4 separate regions of the Homo sapiens genome follow, and regions 2, 3 and 4 are each linked to region 1. Evidence: promoter capture Hi-C in 16 types of primary human blood cells and fetal thymus (Javierre and others, 2016). All regions are on one chromosome and are shown on one strand. The core of a region is centred on a gene start or on the middle of the fragment in contact, and the rest is flanking DNA. Distances in the headings are between cores, read along the strand shown.

Evidence for each region. Contacts are between HindIII fragments. The CHiCAGO score rates a contact against its expected background, and 5 or more counts as called.
Region 2: a fragment that was not itself captured here is called in contact with the fragment with the promoter of LINC00207 in region 1 in 1 of 17 cell types (naive CD8 T cells); the score reaches 5.2 in naive CD8 T cells.
Region 3: a fragment that was not itself captured here is called in contact with the fragment with the promoter of LINC00207 in region 1 in 8 of 17 cell types (naive B cells, naive CD8 T cells, naive CD4 T cells and 5 more); the score reaches 7.0 in naive B cells.
Region 4: the fragment with the promoter of SULT4A1 here is called in contact with the fragment with the promoter of LINC00207 in region 1 in 3 of 17 cell types (total B cells, M0 macrophages and endothelial precursors); the score reaches 6.6 in total B cells.

The regions. Positions count from the first base shown.
Region 1 is chr22:44,567,344-44,571,904 of GRCh38, reverse strand. LINC00207 (long intergenic non-protein coding RNA 207) reads right to left here and starts at 2,565. Exons shown (of 4, transcript NR_028411.1): 1 at 2,464-2,565; 2 at 1,317-1,405; 3 at 413-529. It also overlaps the pseudogene KRT18P23. The HindIII fragment of the contact is 7,812 bases long and covers 1-4,561 here.
Region 2 is chr22:44,004,618-44,009,012 of GRCh38, reverse strand. It overlaps a transcript of PARVB not described here. Among named protein-coding and RNA genes, the nearest start is that of PARVB, 17 kb to the left of the region's middle. The HindIII fragment of the contact is 198 bases long and covers 1,958-2,155 here.
Region 3 is chr22:43,985,485-43,989,875 of GRCh38, reverse strand. SAMM50 (SAMM50 sorting and assembly machinery component) reads right to left here. Exons shown (of 15, transcript NM_015380.5): 13 at 619-765. Among named protein-coding and RNA genes, the nearest start is that of SAMM50, 32 kb to the right of the region's middle. The HindIII fragment of the contact is 222 bases long and covers 2,203-2,424 here.
Region 4 is chr22:43,859,628-43,864,068 of GRCh38, reverse strand. SULT4A1 (sulfotransferase family 4A member 1) reads left to right here and starts at 1,556. Exons shown (of 7, transcript NM_014351.4): 1 at 1,556-1,855. The coding sequence starts at 1,687. RefSeq lists an enhancer at 3,241-3,740. The HindIII fragment of the contact is 4,757 bases long and covers 1-4,441 here.

The DNA.
Region 1 (4,561 bases), core at 1,316-3,815:
AGATAAGTTCGGGCCTCGTTATTTCTCTCTAGGCTTATGGCGGAAAGCTAGGCATGGTGCTGCTGGCCATGGGGCAGGGTCCGAGCACCCTCCTTTAGCTGGCCTGTCCAGCCTCGCCTCTGATGCTGTCTCTGCTGTGCTATGGTGTAAGGAAGAAGCCAGAAGGCAGGCGATGTGGGTTCCAGCCCTAGTTCTGCCTGTTACTGGCTGTGTGGCTGTGGGCATGTTATGGTCCTCTCTGGCCTTGAGGTTGTCATTTGCCACCCTCTACACCAGCTGCCACTGGGGCATGGGGGAGGAGACAGAAGATGTTGGTGGGAGGCAGACCATGAGGCTCAAAAACATCAAGGGCACAGAGAGGTCAGTGGGGGCTGAACACATTAGCCAGGACTCCCAGCAGCAGGAAACTCACCAGTCCAGCCTGCTCTGCTGACAGGACGTCCCTCCAGATGTCCAGAGGAAGTTCCAGAGGAAGTCTGCCAGCTTCATCTCCCGAGCCTCCATTTCCTCATCCGTAAAGTGGGTAGGGCTGTGGCAAAAGTTCCATGGCATGAGGTGCGAAGAGTGCTCACCTAGGCCGGCACATCATGGGCTCTCTGGGGACATGGACCATTTTCTCCTCCTCCCGAGGCAGGCCAAGCTCCAGGAAGCAGAAGACCTTCCAATGTGGGAGGAGAGGGTACTCAAGGGGTAGCCCAGTAGGGCTGAAGGTCTTCCCCGGTGCCCTGTGCAAACATGGGGGCAGGTGGGTGGTGCATGGCAGACCTGGTGTTCCTGGACATGGAGGCAGCCCATGGCCACAGCTGTGCTGAGACTCAGGCCACTCAGTTCATCCCTCTGCATCCCTCTCCCCCTCCTCCCTAAAGCCCTGCAAACCTGCCTTCGTGGCCCTTTTCTTCCCTGATGAGGCTTTGGAATGAGCTGCTTTTTTTAGCCTCTCCAATCAGGCCGGCATCGTGCTTGGCTATTGTTAGCATCTCAGCTCGACGCCTCCTTCAGAAAGTGATGAGATCATCCTCCCAGAGGTCCACGGTCACCTTTCCACAAGGCTCAGCAACGTGCAGACCTCTCCTCCCATCCCCTACCCTGGTCCCAGGACAGGGACAGTGACAGCACTGAGAAGAGGAGTCAGGGACTGAACTAGGAGCAGGAAGGGAACTGGGAGTGAATGATCAAGGAGAATCTACTGTGGGCTCCGGACAGCGTCCTCTCTGCCCGCCAGCAACCCTTCCTTGCCTCTGGGGCCAGCACTTTGTTTTTCCCTCAAGGAGCCAGCTCACCTTCTGTGTCATGCTGTACTGACCCCCACGCCTTACCAGCCCATCATGCACGGTGTTCCCCTCTGGTTCAGTGATTGGATCCCAAGCAGGATGTGTAACCATCCATTCTCCTCTTTAAACAGAACCTGTTTTGTTGGAGTGAAAGTTTGCCCCCTTAAAAATAGGTGTTACCAGGTTCCCTTGCAGCTAGGAGTGGCCATGGACATAAGAGGAAGTCTGCCAGTTTAATTTCCCATAAAAGGGGATGGTCTCAGGGGCACACACCCTTCTTCCTGCCTGGAATGTGGATCTGATGCCCAGAGCAGGAGCAGCCACATTGCAACCATGAGGATAAAAGGTGCAAAGACTGGACTTTCTGACAAAGATGGTGGCACAGATGCACACATGTACATTTGCCTCTTCTTGAACCCTCACTAAAATGATGGTAAAGATCACTTTACGGACATTACCCTCAAGCAGAAAGAGAAAAGGGGAGGAGGCCCAAGCACCAACATTTTGGAGACTGGAAACCTGGTGGATGAGCCGTAACCCACTAGGTGAGCTTGAGAAGCTGAAACATGGCCGGCCAGCAGCATGCAAAGATGAGAAGCAACAATGGGCTGGGAGGATGGAGATGCCAGATATTTCTGGAGGGGAGTGAAGGAGGATTGTTTCAAACAACAGCAGTTAGTCTTCCTCTCACGGGAGGGACAGAGACAGAGACAGCTATCCACTCCCACTGCTTACACAACTGGGAGATTGCCCCTCCCTGAGCCTGGCAGAAACCCCAAGATTTATTATCAAGAAAGGGTCTGGCAGAGGCCTCTGGACTGGGGGATGCCACTCCAAAAGCAGGGCATGTACTGAGTATTGGAGACCCCCGCCTCTTTCTCCTTGCAGCCCCCGGAAAACCGGCAGCCAGGCCTCACGTGCAGCAGGGGGGAGCTGGGGGATCATTTTGGTTGGGGTCAGTTCCACTGACCTTCCTAGTGGAAATCCTCACACTCTGACCCCCAGTGACCCCCCGGGGAAGCAATCCGCCAGATCACCTGCAGTGGAGACCGCAGTCAGAAAACGCTACCCAAGGGCTCAGCACTTCCAATCAGCTTCTTTGTTTTTTAAATGAAGTAGACATTTAAATGACGTTTATATTCAGTGAAGTGCACAGATCTTAGCACAGTTTGATGAATTTTGGCAAACTTACTCCCATGTCACACGCCTCCCTCAAGGTAGAGGACATTTCTGCCAGCTGGAAAATCTCTCACCAGGTCACCCTCCCATCTGATCCCCGTCTCCATCGCCTGTCCTCCCCATCCCCTGCAGGCCGTGCTGTTCCGATTTCTATCAGCATAGAGGAGCCCTGTCTGTTCTAGAAGTTCATATAGATGACATCACACAGCACATACTCTTCTATATCAGGCTTTGTCACCTAGTAGAATGTTTTTGAGAGTCATCCATGTATTGCAGGCCTCAGGGGTTTGCTCCTTTCTGTGGTTAAATGATCTTCCATGGTTTAGAATGGAATATTTATCCACTCTCCTCTTGACGGACATTTGAGTTCTTAATAGTTCTTGGCTATCACAAATAAAAGTGCTATGAACATTCTTGTACAAGTTTTTATGTGGACATGTGCTTGCTTTTTTTTTTAATTGAATAAATAACTAGACATAGAATTGTTTGGTCACAGCAATTTTGTTTAACTTTACGGGAAATTGCCATATTGATTTTTAAAGCAATTGTACCATTTCACATTCTTACCAACAATGTATGCATTCTAGTTGCTCCGTATCTTTGTCAACACTTGTTAGGGTCTTTAAATTTTAGCCATTCTGGTGGATATGTAGTGGTATCTTGCTGTGACTAAAATGTGTACTCCCCTCCCCCAATGACTAATGGTGTTGAAGATGATTTTTATGTACTTATTTGCCATTTATGTATCTTTTTTGGTGAAGTGTTTGTTTAAATCTTTGTCCCATTTTTGGGAACTTTTAATTTTTTTTTTTTTTTCCAGACAGAGTTTTGCTCTTGTCACCCAGGCTGGAGTGCAATGGCGTGATCTTTGCTCACTGCAACCCCCACCTCCCAGGTTCAAGTGATTCTTCTGCCTCAGCCTCCTGAATAGCTGGGATTACAAGCATGCACCACCACGCCCAGCTAGATTTTTGTATTTTTAGTACAGAGGGGATTTCACTATGTTGGCCAGGCTGGTCTAGAACTCCTGACCTCAGGTGATCCGCCCTCCTCAGGCTCCCAAAGTGCTGGGATTACAGGCGTGAGCCACCCCGCCCAGCCGGATTTTTAAAATTATTGAGTTGTAAGAGTTCTTTTATTTTTTTTAACCTCTGAACTTTTTATTGGCCTCCTGCTCTCTAAAGGGTACCCTGCTTCTGCTGCCTTAATGTCTCAGAACTTTGGTGTCGTTGGTCTCAGACACCACTTTGCCATCCACTCTCTGGTGGGTGGTGGTCTTTGGAATGGTTTGCATGGAGTTGCTGCTGTCCAGGGCATCTCCAAGATTGAAGTCCTTGCCATCTTCCAGCAGGTGGCAGTAGGTGGCGATCTCAGCCTCCAGCTTGACCTTGATGTTCAGCAGGGCCTCATACTCCTGGGCCTGGCACTGTCCCTTTGCCTGGGTCTGTGCCAGCTCTGACCCCAGGTGCAGCAGGATCCCGTTGAGCTGCTCCATCTGCAAGGTGTAGCAGGCCTTCACCTCCCTCACGCTGTTCTCCAAACTGGCTTTCAGATTTCTCATGGAGTTCAGGTTGATCTCCAAGGACTGGACTGTACATCTCAGCTCTGTGAGCGTCATCTCAGCAGCTCCAGCCTTGGCAGACTGCGTGGTGACCACTGTGGTGCTCTCCTCAATCTGCTGAGACAAGTACTTGTCCAGCTCCTCTCCGTTCTTCCAAGCCAGCTCGTCATATTGGGCCCGGATGGCTGCCATGATCTTGGCGAGGTGCTGAGATTTGGGGATCTACCTCCATGGTCAACCCAGAGCTAGCAATCTGGGCTTGTAGGCCTTTTACTTCCTCTTCGTGGTTCTTCTTCATGAAGAGCAGCTCCTCCTTGAGAGCCTTGATCTCTGTCTCCAGCTGCAGCCGAGTGACGTTGGTGTCATCATTGACCTTACAGAGTCCATGGATGTTGCTCTCCACAGACTGGCACATGGCCAGCTCTGTCTCATACTTGACTCTAAAGTCATCAGCAGCAAGATGGGTGTTGTTGATCTGCAGAACAATGCAGGCATTGTCTACAGTAATTGCCAAGCTCTGAGCCCTCTGGTTCCTGATGGTCTTGAAGTA
Region 2 (4,395 bases), core at 807-3,306, 560 kb after region 1:
TTATTTATTTACTTATTTATTTTTAAGATGGAGTCTCGTTCTGTCGCCCAGGCTGGAGCACAGTGGTGCGATCTCGGCTCACTGCAAGCTCTGCCTCCCGGGTTCACGCCATTCTCCTGCCTCAGCCTCCCGAGTAGCTGGGACTACAGGCACCCACCCCCACACCCAGCTAATTTTTTTTTTGTACTTTTAGTAGAGATGGGGTTTCCTCGTGTTAGCCATGATGATCTCGATTTCCTGACCTCGTGATCCGCCTGCCTCGGCCTCTCAAAGCGCTGGGATTACAGGCATAAGCCACCATGCCCAGCCTGTCATCTCTATTTTTATAAGCAAGCAAGAAAGACAGGCAGGTTGTGGCAGCACTCTTGGATCCGTGTCCTCAGAGTGGCAGACCCAAGCATCTATCTCTAATACAGTCTGAGTGTTATCAAAGTCAGCCAAAGTATGCTGCAAAAGATAAATACTTTTCTATAACTAAATGGTATGGTTTTCTCAAAATCTAAAAGAAAAATGCAAAATGAATCTTTTTTTCTCAGAAGCATGCTTTCCTTGCACATAGTAGGCATCCAGGTATATTCACTCAATCATAAAATCCTGTCTCTAGACCGCGCGTGGTGGCTCACGCCTGAAATCCCAGCATGCTGGGAGGTTGAGGTGGGTGGATCACTTGAGGTCAAGAGTTTGAGACCAACCTGGCCAACATGTGAAACCCCATCTCTACTAAAATACAAAAATCAGTTGGGCGTGGTGATGCGCGCCTGTAATCCCAGCTACTCGGAGGCGGGCGGGGGTGCTAAGGCAGGAGAATTGCTTGAACCTGGGAGGCGGAGGTTGCAGTGAGCCGAGATCATGCAACTGTGCTCCAGCCTGGGTGACAGAGCAAGACTCTGTCTCAAAAACAAAACAACAACAACAACAAAAAAAACCTGTCTCTAAAGGTAGAAACAACCCAAACGTCCACTGACACATGAAGGGATAAAGAAAATGTGGTGTATGCATGCGTATATACATGAAATTCTGACTCAGCCTACAACGCAGATGAACTTTGAGGACATGATGCTAGTGTGATATGCCAGTCACAAAAGGACACATACTGTATGATCCTGCTTAGATGAGGCACCTAGAGGAGTCAAATTAATAGCGACAGGAAGTAGAACAGTGGCTGCAGGGGCTGGGAAGGACCGAATTGGGAGTGAGTGCCTAATGGGTGCAGGTTCAGCTTCGGAATGAAAGAGTTCTGGAGATGGGTGGTGGTGATGGTTGCTCAACAGTGTAAATGGATTTAAGCCACGGAACTGTAGACCTCAAATGGTACATTTTATGTGCATTTTACCAAAAAAAAACTTTTTTAAAGCCTGTTGTCAAACCCACATAAATCAGGGCCTAAAACTAAAGGTAATTCAAAGTCTTGCCTTGGGGGATTGGAAAAGCCTCTAAAACTTTCTCGTGGAGAAGAGGAATCTACAGGAAGGAAGGAGATGGAGACTTCCCGCTGAGGAGCGCAGGAGGGAAGAAATGAGTCCAGAGGCTCCCAGAGGCAGAAGAGGGTGAACAGAGAGCCCGACCTTGGGAAAGAGAATAAAGGATGCTCTGGCCATGACCCACGACTGGAAATTCACATGAATCTCTGGCCTCCAGCGTGGGAGTGCAGAGCCTGATGCAGGCCCCATGCTAAACTGCAAAGCAGCACGGGAAAGGATGGGCTTCTCGGAGGAGACTCCACTCCCCCCAGCCCACCTTCCTCCCATAGGCGGAGCTGGGCACCCCCTCCCCATCTTTCCTGGGTACCCCCTGCTGACCTGTTCTTCCCCACTAGACCTGAAGTGTCATCTCCGCCCGCTGTACCCGCAAACGCAGCCTCGCACACACTAAGAGCTTGATCGCTGTCCCCCAAACGGTTGAATGAACGGAAGGTAGTGGCCACTGACAGTAGGTGGATGGTAACCATTGTGAAGCTTCCTATGGGTCCCTGGGATCTTTGTGCCTTTTGCATCCGCGCAGCAGAACTCACATGGATGGGAGCAGCTGATCTGGGGCTCCCCTCCTGCACTTGCCCAGGTGAAAGATTCAGCGATGAAGGTGATTTGCCCTCACACGGGGCATGACAGGGGGAGGTACTGCACACAAATAGAAGGAAATGTTAGGTAACAAAGCTTTGCTGTTACTAGCTTTCTGGCTGCCTGTCCAGGAGATCCTGCCACGTGGCAGGTGGGAGCTGAGTTACCTATGAGAGGAGAGGGCTGAAGGTATGGAAGTGTGCTGAGTTCAAACCTAGAGGGTGCTCCTCAATCCTGACTGCACACACAGGCCACCTGGGAATCTTGCAAAACCACAGGGTGGGCTGGGCAGGGCCTGGAACTCTGCATTTCTTTTTCTTTTTTTCTTTTCCGAGATGTAGTCTCGCTCTGTCACCAGGCTGTAGTGCAGTGGCACGATCTCGGCTCACTGCAACCTCTGCCTTCTGGGCTCAAGTGATTCCCCTGCCTCAGCCTCCCAAGTAGCTGGGACTACAGGCGCATGCCACCACGCCCGACTGATTTTCTGTATTTTAGTTAGAGACAGCGTTTCACTATTTTGGTTAGGATGGTCTCAATCTCCTGACCCCGTGATCTGCCCACCTTGGCCTCCCAAAGTGCTGGGATTACAGGCATGAGACACGGCATCTGGCCAGGACTCTGCATTTCTAATGTATCGTCAGATTCCTGCACTACACTTGGAGTGGCGTAAGATGCTAGGATATACACTATTGAAAGCATTCCATGGGCCTGGTGTGGTGCCTTGTGCCTGTAATCCCAGAGGGTTGGGAGGCTGAGGCTGAGGCAGGAGCATCACTTGAGCCCAGAAGTTCAAGACCATCCTGGGAAACATAGCAAGACCCTGCCTCTATAAAAAATACTTTTAAAATAGCTGGGCATGGTGGCATGCGCCTGTGGTCCCAGCTATTCCAGAGACTGAGGTGGGAGGATCCCTTGAGCCAGGGAGTTGAGACTGCAGTGAGCTATGATAGCGCTGTTACCAGTGGAGGGTCTTGATTATGAGTCTTGGCGTTTTGAACAAAGAATTGGGCAAAACGCACAAACAAAGAAACAATAGAATGAAGCAACGGAAGCACAGATATATTGAAACAGAAGTACACTCCTCAAAGTGGGAGCAGGCTCTAGCAGTGGCTGAGAGCCCTGGTTACAGAATTGTCTGGGGTTTAAATACCCTCTAGGTTGTTACTTGATTACAACCGATGTAAATGAAGAAGTGGCCTGCGACCAGTCTGATTGGTTGTGGGAGGGGACCAATCAGAGGAACTTCCCATTTTTCATCTGCCATGCAGTGGAAAGGTGGGAGGGTTGAGTAGCCTCTGATCCTTTCGTTACTTGGGTGTGGAGAGGTGGGGTTTTCCTTTTGATTCAGCTCTAGGAAATCAGTGCAAATCAGCCTTAGGTACCCTGCCTCCAGAACCCATTCTCCTGCCTCAGCACCACTGCACTCCAGCCTAGGTGACAGAGCAAGACCTTGTCTCTGAAAAAATTAAAGAAAAGAAAGAGAAAAGCATGTAACAGGAACTACAGTATGCTATTATTTGTGTAAAAAGAAAAAAAAAAAAACGGCCAGGCGTGGTACCTCATACATGTAATCTCAGCACTTTGGGAGTTCAAGGCAGGAGGACTGCTTGAGCCCAGGAGTTTGACACCAGCCTAGGCAATATAGCAACACCCTGTCTCTACAGAAAAAAAAAAAAAAAATAGAAAAAATTAGCTGGGCACGGTGGCACACGCCTATAGTCTCAGTTACTTGGGAGGCTGAAGCAGGATGATTGCTTAAGTCCAAGAGGTTGAAGCTGCAGTGAGCCGTGATTGTGCCACTGCACTCCAGCCTGGGTGACAGAGTGAAACCCTCTCTCAAAAATAAATAAATAAAACTATAAAATTTTTTTAATCATTGATTTTTAAAGAGCTGTTGTATTTTTCCCACCTTTATTGCAAAATAAAGATTTTCTGTTTTCAAGGCTCATAAGCAGGTCGGTCAGGAGTCTGTTGAGTACACAGCACTGTCCCTGAGAACCTTTTAAATCAATCATCCATTTTTAGAATCTTTTTGGAACAATGGCTCCTAATTCTCCTTAAAATGTACTTCAGGTGCTTAACCCTATTGCCTGTTCTGGCTTAGCCCAGAAGACAAAAGCAGTGCATGCTCACAAACCGGACGTTGTGTTGCAGGACAATCAAAGACTGGAGAGACGGAAAAGGTTCAGGAGAGTTTATTAAATTAAGGTGATCACCAGCTCAGCCGGACATAGGTCCAGAAAGTTTGAGCCCCGAACAAAGGGCTTTTTCTACTTGTAAACATCTTAAGGCAGGAACTACGTGAGGCGGGAAGCAAGTTACAGAAGCAAGAAACAAA
Region 3 (4,391 bases), core at 1,064-3,563, 580 kb after region 1:
CTGAACTCCCTGAGGAAGGCACCCAATCCTACTCAGCTCTGTGGCCATCATGACTTGTTTATTAAATAGACAAACAGATTTTTCTTCGTAAGGGCATTAGATGATTATTTTTCTTGTATGCTTCATTCGCTCAACCAACCACTTAATGCTGGGCATTATGTTAGCTGTTGTAAGAATTTTTTTCAAGTAAGGCACAGTCTCTAACTTTAATGACTATGTAATCTAAAAAGACAGACATGGCCTGGCACGGTGGCTCACACCTGTAATCCCAGCACTTTGGGAATCCAAGGGGGGTGTGGATCACGAGGTCAAGAGATCGAGACCATCCTGGCCAACATGGTGAAATCTCGTCTCTACTAAAAATACAAAAAATTAGCCGGGCGTGATGGCACGCGCCTGTAGTCCCAGCTACTCGGGAGGCTGAGGCAAGAGAGTCACTTGAACCCAGAAGGTGGAGGTTGCAGTGAGCCGAGATTGCGCCACTGCACTCCAGCCTGGCAATAGAGCGAGACTCCATCTCAAAAAAAAAAAAAAAAGACAGACACCTCTTTGTGTACTGTGCTTTTAAACATGAAAACAACTGTACTACAATGGTTTCTTGAATAGCGCAAGTTTTACCATAGTTGAGGTTGCAGAGGTTTCCTGCGTTGAGAAAGAAGTGTGTTCGGAAAAGTTCTCCAAAGCCACCCTGGCCTGGCCGGAAAGGTAATGGGGTGTAGAGGTGCAGGCCGCCGGCCCAGTACGCTTCTCCACCTAGGTAGTCTCCTAAGCAAAGGAGGGGTGCAGAACAAAAACAAGGTCCGACAAGGTTAACATCACGTTAACTTTCCACAACTTACAGAAGCAAGATTTCTGTCCTGTAAACAACGCCACACAGTGCTGGAGTTTGCAAGCAGCTGTTCTTCTCATTCCTGATACTGATGGCCTCATTTTAAATAATCTTTCTTTTTCTCCTGGTTTGTTTCACACCTTGATTTAACTGAGGAGGCAAACAAAGCCAATGTCGTTGAGGAAGGAATGCACTCTGTCATTCATCGTATCTGTGAAATGCTTTGAAGAAATGAGTCTCATGACAATAACTTTATCCACAAATGTAGATGACCAACTCACTTCCACCTGCAAATGAAATGCATTATTTTGCCAAATTTTCGAGAGCGCAATAGAGACAAAATGCAGAAAGCGTCTCTGCAGTGTGTGGAGACAGCTGCACATGATTAATCAAAAGGCAGAGGCTGCCTGCCACCCACTGCACAGCGAGACCAGGTTCCAGCTCAGTGTCTCCAGAGAAGAGACAATTCTCAACGGTTCATGACCGCTTGGATTTAGGTTACTTTTGCCAAAGTGTAAGCCTATCCACTGAGAGCATGTATTTGCATATTTCTAAAAACGTTCCTGTCCATTCCATTTTAAACTATAAAGCAACAGAAAACATACAACCCAAAGGTTTATACTTTGTTGCAAAATACCATTTATACAGTGTCTTACTCTCCTCTAATACAAAATGACAGACCATGAAATGGGAAAATACTGATGTCTTCAAGACTAACTTCAAGGAATGAACTGCTGATTCATTTAAAGACTTCAGTTCCTCACAATCCAGAGGAAGGAAAAAAAAGACACCAACATCTCCTTAATCCCTTTCAACACGAGAGCTCTGATGGGAACAGAGAATGAACAAATTGCAGGAGAACAACCTTGTTTTTTGTTTCCCAGAAACCACTCCTCCTCTCTCTTCTTAAATAACTGATTTTATTCTGAACATAAAAGTTAAATATACTCATTGTAGAACATCTGATCAACATAAAGAGAAAAAAATGAAAATATTTTAATTTCTACCATTCAGAAATAAACAGCTAACATCCTGATGTCCTTTCTTCCAGTGGATTATAATGTAAATGTAAAACCAAATAAGCAAGCCAATAAAATGTGGTGCTTGCTTGCTCTCTCTCTCTCTGTGTGTGTATATATATATATATACACAGTTTCCAGTCCTACTTTTTTTCAGTTTTAATATATTGTAAACACTTTCTCCTAACGCTTTATCTTCCTTGAAAATGGGGTTTTTATGCCTGAAAAACAACATAGGTGGACCAATATTTAATGATCTATTTCTCTTCTATTGTCATACTGGTTTCTAAGTCCTTTATCATGGACATTAACCTATGATGAGTTTCCTGGCACAAACATGTATTTTTTTAAGCTTTTATTGTGCATACCCATAGGAAAGTATACACATCCTAAGTGTACAGCTCAATGAATTTCTATATCTGAAACACATCTGCCCAGAGAGCACCAGGACCAAGAAACCAAGCACACCCCACATCAGACCTTGCCTTCCCTTCTAACCACCACCTGGTGCCCATACCACATGCAGCCACTGCCCCACCCTCTCACAGCACAGGCCACTTCACCTGCTTCCAAGCTTTATAAATGGGATCTTCCAGGAGGCATTCCTCTGGGTCTAGCTTTTCCTCCCGACATGTTTCTGAGATTTACTCATGCCATCATTCAGCCAGTGGCTGTAACTTGTTCTTCCTCATTACAGTAGAAGATACCATAATTATCTGACCATTTCCTACTGTTGATGGGCATTTCGGTTTCCAGTTTCCAGCTTGGGGCTATCATTAATAGTATTATTAACAATTCTTGAACATACACATTTTAAGGCTCTTGATACATCAAACCACTTTCACAAAAAAATTATAGCAATTTACATTCTTGCCCACAGAGTCTGGCCAACCGCACGGAGGTGGTGAGTGGAACACCAGCATGCCTTACTTCTCAGGTAGGTAAAGGCTCAGCTCTCATAGACTCGGCATATCACACTTGCTTATAATAAACAGATGAAATAAAACCATCAAAAACTTAAGTTACTTTTCTTAAAAATTACACTGTAATGAAGCACTCTAAATACGAGTGAAAAGAAATAATCTATACTTTCGACAAAAATTTATGCAGAGTGTAGTTGTTGCTTATAATGACATAAAAATGGAAGCAACAAAGGTGCTGAAGATTTTAAGAAATCCTGGGTGCAGTGACTCACGCCTGTAATATGAGCACTTTGGGGGGCCAAGGCGGGCAGATCACCTGAAGTCAGGAGTTCAAGACCAGCCTGGCCAACACGGCGAAACCCCATCTCTATTAAAAAATACAAAAATTAGCTGGGCGTGATGGCGGGCACCTGTAATCCCAGCTATTCAGGAGGTTGAGGCAGGGGGAATCGCTTGAACCTGGGAGGCAGAGGTTGCAGTCAGCTGAGATCACGCCACTGCACTCCAGCCTGGGCAACAGAGCGAGACTCCGTCTCAAAAAAAAAAAAAGTAAGAAAATCAGGGGAGAATGTTTAATAATGGAATAATATGCATCCACTTAAATGATGTTTTAAAGTTCCATAGCATGTGGAGATACCTCTGACGGATGTTGCATGTCAGAGACGGTTCTAGGAGTATAAATGAGACAACCTTCCCAGAAAGTACGATAAAGCCCTAAAAGATCTGGCGATTTCACATCTAGAATTTCATATTAAAGTAAAACTTGGCCAGGCGTGCTGGCTCACACCTGTAATCCCAGCACTTTGGGAGGCCAAGGCGGGCAAATCACGAGGTCAGGAGTTTGAGATCAGCCTGGCCAACATGGAGAAACCCCGTCTCTAATAAAAATAGAAAAATTAGCCGGGCATGGTGGCGGGCACCTGTAATCATGCTACTCAGGAGGATGAGGCAGGAGAATCACTTGAACCTGGGAGGTGGAGGTTGCAGTGAGCTGAGATTGCGCCAATGCACTCCAGTCTGGGCAACAGAGCAAGACTCCATCTCAAAAAAAAAAAAAAAAAGAAAGAAAGAAAAAATAAATAAATAAATAAAACTTACAGATGAGTACCAACATTCAGTTCGAAGGTGAATACATTGTTTTATAATCATAAAAGAAAAAAAAAAACACAAACTCAATGTCCAAAGCTTGGGATTTGGTCTTTAAAAAGATAATAGTGTGTCATAAGACAAAACACGCAGCCATTAAGATGATAAACTTTCTCTCTCTCATTCCTCACTGGGGAAATGCAAAAGGACGCGGCCACCCCGGAAGCTCGCCTGGCAGCTCCTTACAAAGGGGAGGCGTGCTCTTAACACGTGACCAAACAACTGCGCTCCCCGGCACTGACTCAGCAGATGTGACAACTTATGTCCCAGAAGCTGTCCACAACAACCTGCGCGTGAATGTTGATAGAAGCTTTACTCATCACTGCCAAACACTAGAAGCAACCAAGCTGTCCTTCGGCAGCTGAATGGACAAACAAACTGTGGTACTTCCAGACAAAGGAATATTATTCAGCAATAAGAAGAAACAAGTTATTGGGTCCCAGAAAGACATGGAGGGACCTTAAGTGCATATTA
Region 4 (4,441 bases), core at 307-2,806, 710 kb after region 1:
TCCTCTCTCTGTCTGCTATGTACACATGGCCTGCGCTTCTCAGCCCATGTGTATGTCTTTGGTGTCAGAATGCACGTGTCTCACTCTACAGTAAGAAGGAGAGAGTAGGAATAGGTCCCGTCCAGCCACTCTGCTCCAGATTCTTGTTGGTGTAAACTCCTTCCATCTTCCTGGCTACACTACTTAGAGGTAGGAATCATTCTTTTCCTTTACACAGCTGATGATGCTCGGCTGCAGAGAATGAGAGCAGGCTGTGTTGTTTTCATCTTTGTGCTTCCCCAGGCATGTTAGTAGGTGCTTCATATATGTCTGTTGAGTGCATGACTGGCAAGGGGTTGCACTGAGATCTCTAGAACTCGGTTGCTCTCAAATTATAGTTTGCACAAGAAGTGCCTTACTAAATGTATATTTTTGTAATTTTTCTCCATAGATCTGGGGTCCTGGAATTTGCAATCCAACACTCCCCTCCCCTACTCATGGGATATTAAGAAGCACTTTTTGGCTGGGCGAGGTGGTTCACACCTGTAATCCCAGCACTTTGGGAGGCCAAGGTGGGCAGATCACGAGGTCAGGAGATTGAGACCATCCTGGCTAACACGATGAAACCCCGTCTCTACTAAAACAAACAAACAAAAAATACAAAAAATTAGCCAGGCATGGTGGCATGTGCCTGTAGTCCCAGCTACTCGGGAGGCTGAGCCAGGAGAATGGCGTAAACCCGGGAGGTGGAGCTTGCAGTGAGCTGAGATCGCGCCCCTGCACTCCAGCCTGGGCGACACAGCGAGACTCCATCTCAAAAAAAAAAAAAAAAAAAAAAAAGCAAAAAAAAAGCACTTTGTTTTTTTGGCTGGACTAGGTGGCCCATACTTTTTTTTTGTTGTTGTTAGAAGATCTCGTCCTGTTGCCCAGACTGGAGTGCAGTGGTGCAAGCTCACAGCTCACTGCTAATTTTTTTTTTTGTATGTTTGTAGAGATGCGGTTTCACCATTTACCCAGGTTGGTCTCGAACTCTTGACCTCAGGAGATCCGCCCGTGCTCGACCTCTCAAAGTGCTGAGATTACAGGCGTGATCCACCGCGCCTGGCGAAGACGCATATTTTTAATAGGACCTAATATTTACCTGAAATTATCTTGGTTATTTACCAATGTAAGCTCCAACAGGGCCAGGCTTCTGCTTGCTTCTACCCTGACGCGTGTCGGGGCCCTGGCCCAGTGCCTGGCACAGATCAGCAGCGCGCTAAGCACGTGTTGAATGGACGACTACCTTTCAGGGCCTTCCAGCCAGGGTATCTCATGCGTCTGTGTTGAGCGCTTGCTGAGTGACAGAAGCTATGAGCGGAATGAACGCACGCACGACTGAGGAGGCTGCAGACCGCGGGCCAGGGTCTCTGTCAGCCCCGGCAGCGGGTGGGTGACCCCGGCCGGGGGCGGGGCGGGGAGGACGCGGCTCCGCGGCGCCATGACGTCACGCCCGTGCAGCGCCGCGGCCGCGTGCCGGGCGGCGCCATGACGTCATACCCGCGGAGCCTCCGCCGCGCGTCGGCGGCGCCATGACGTCACGCCTGCGGAGCTGCCGCCGCGCGCCGGTGGGGCGCGAGCGTGTGCGGGGCGCGGGCGCGGGCGCGGGCGCGGGCGCGTGCGGGCTGCGAGCCGGGAGGCGGCGGCGGCGACGGCGACGGCGGCGGCATGGCGGAGAGCGAGGCCGAGACCCCCAGCACCCCGGGGGAGTTCGAGAGCAAGTACTTCGAGTTCCATGGCGTGCGGCTGCCGCCCTTCTGCCGCGGGAAGATGGAGGAGATCGCCAACTTCCCGGTGCGGCCCAGCGACGTGTGGATCGTCACCTACCCCAAGTCCGGTGAGCCCCGCGCCGACCGCGCCCGCCACGCCATGCCCCAGCCCTGCAGCGCGGCCGCGTAGACGCCGCGCCCGCGCCCGGGGCTTCTGCTGGGCCGGGTGGTCGCCCTTGGCCTCCGCCCCTGCCGTGCCCACCGCTCTCCCGATGCTCGGATCCCTGCGGGGCGGGGTGGGGTGGGGTGGGGGTGGGAAGGGGCTTGGTTCTCATCTGGGGAAACCAAGGTCAGAGACCTTCGGGAGCGGCCCCTTCCGTGGAGATGGAGCCTATTTGGCCGGCGCTGCAGGAGGATGGGCCCAGGGCCGCCACCCATCCCTGCTTCTCCCTTTACCTGGCTGGCTGTGTGACCTTGGACAGGTCACTCAACCTCTCTGTTCCTGAATCCTGCCCAACCTTTGATGAGTGCAAAGTCCTGGTGTTCACCTGGGAAGGGAGATAACATGGGCGTCAGGGCTTTCAGCGTGGAAACGTAACGTCCCTCCTTTCCAGCCTGGGCTCCGGGTGGGGGATGGGACCAGTCCCCGCCTGGAGTGCCTTGCTTGTACATTCTCTTGTTTCAGGGCTGCCTCCATCACCGAGGCAGGACCTGGGGCATTCACATTTCCCAGCATTAGCTGACGTCACTTTCACAATAACAGCTGTGTGAGCTAGTGGTGGTCATTCCCACTTTACAGTCTAGGCACAGAGGCTCAGAGAGGGGAAGAGGCTGGTCCAAGGTCACTCAGCTGGTGAGTGGCTGACCTGGGAATTAAAGCTAGGCTGGTCTGTTTCCAGACCTGAGGTAGGAGATTGTATAGTACCCCATCTGAGGTTTTTAGGGAAAGGAGGTAGCAGCTTTCCTGTTCTGTAAACATGCCCTGGGATTTCCTTGTTGCCACTGTATTTGAGGCAATCACAGCGTGGTTTAGAAGGTGTCTGGCTCTAAGGTCACGCCGGACCAGCAGTCGGGCAGTTTCAGGAAAAGCTGTAGGCTTGGCTGTTGTAGCTGTATGGAGTTCCAGACACCTGAGGGCAGGTCTCTGACATTCTTCTGAGGAAGATTGGAGTAGGGACTCTCAGTGGAGGGTGTTGGTTGGAGAACAGAGCGTTCGATGGGCTGCTATCTTGAGCACATGCCAGTCGCCGCATGGGGTGGGACCTAAAATGCTTTAGGAATGGCTAAGCGTGTCGTTGGCTTCTGTGGCCACTCATTAAGTCCTGCGGGCCAAGTGCTCTATCGCTGTTAATCTGTGAGGGACTCTTACACCTTTTTTTCAGAGGCTCAGAGAAGGCACAAATTGTTCGGAGTCACACAGTTGCTGAGGGACAGAGGTCAGGTCTAGCTAGGTCTCCCGGTCCACGGCCAGCCTCTCCCCTGCCTTATGGGTGCTCCGTTGCCCTTGGAAAACCGTGAGGGCCCAAGAAGGAGGGGGACCTAGCCTTCTTTCTTGGAGGCTTTAAAATGCTGGAAGTCTCAGCCACTTAGGGATTTTGAGGTTTGTGTCACTTCTCTGAGGCCCCTCCAAGTGGACTTCTGGTAGCCCAGTTCATATTTTCTTTTCCTTTCCTTCCATCTGCTACTGGGGATGGATTTGTAGCAGGCATCAGTGCTTACACATTAAGAACCTGGCTTCGGAGTTGGAAGTCCTGGGTTTGAATGCAGTTTTGCGGCTTACCAGCAGAGTGACCCTGGGCAGATCATAGAATCCCATTGAGCTGTGGTCTCTGCGGAGGGAGAAGAGACCACCTCGGCCCGCTGATGTGTGGCTGTGAGGATGAGCAAAATGGCGGGTGAGAACGCTTAGCCCACGTCCAGACACACGCTGGAAAGGCTCGTGGTTAATGCTGACTTTTAAGCCCTGAACACCTGTTGTGCCCAGATGCTTTGCTAGGGGCTGGGGAAGCCGAGAGGGCCCCATCTGGTGCCTGTCCTTAGTGAGCTCTCAGTCTGATGGGGGAGACATGGTTGGTGCTGGGGTTGGGGCAAGTAGCCAGGACTAACAGGTGCCCCATTCACCTGCCATGGCAGGGAACCCACGGGCCTCCTTGGATTTCCAGTGCCCAGGTGTAGGAGATCCTAATGAACTTGCAGGTGGTCAGAGCCGGAAGGGCCTGGTCCCTTGTCAGCCCCTTCCCACCCTCTGCTGATGGAGAAACTGGGGTTCAAAGGGGTGGTGGGGGCTTTCTGGTGGCTAAGGCAATGATAATTAGATCCTGCCTTCGCTTCCTGTCCGGTATTTTTTCCCACAACCCCGTGCTGCTTGCTCGGATTCTTTTTGTGCTTGCGACATTCTAGCTTAGATGGCGGGTTAGGACTGTGCTCTCCAGCGTAGGACCCTCTGCCCACAGGCGGCTGCTTACATCTAATGAATTAAAATGAAATAAAAGTGGAAATTCTGTTCCTCAGTAGCATCACCATGTTTCAGGTGCTCAGTAGCCACATGGGGCTAGCGGCTGCCGTATTGGGTGGCGCAGATATGGAGTGTTCCCATCACAGCTGAAAGTTCTGCTGCACAGCGCCAGGTAAAACCGTGATCCAGACAGTAGGAGCCCATTGTGTCTTCTGAGAAGGACCTTTCTGTTGATGACCGACTTTGTTCCTATTCATTC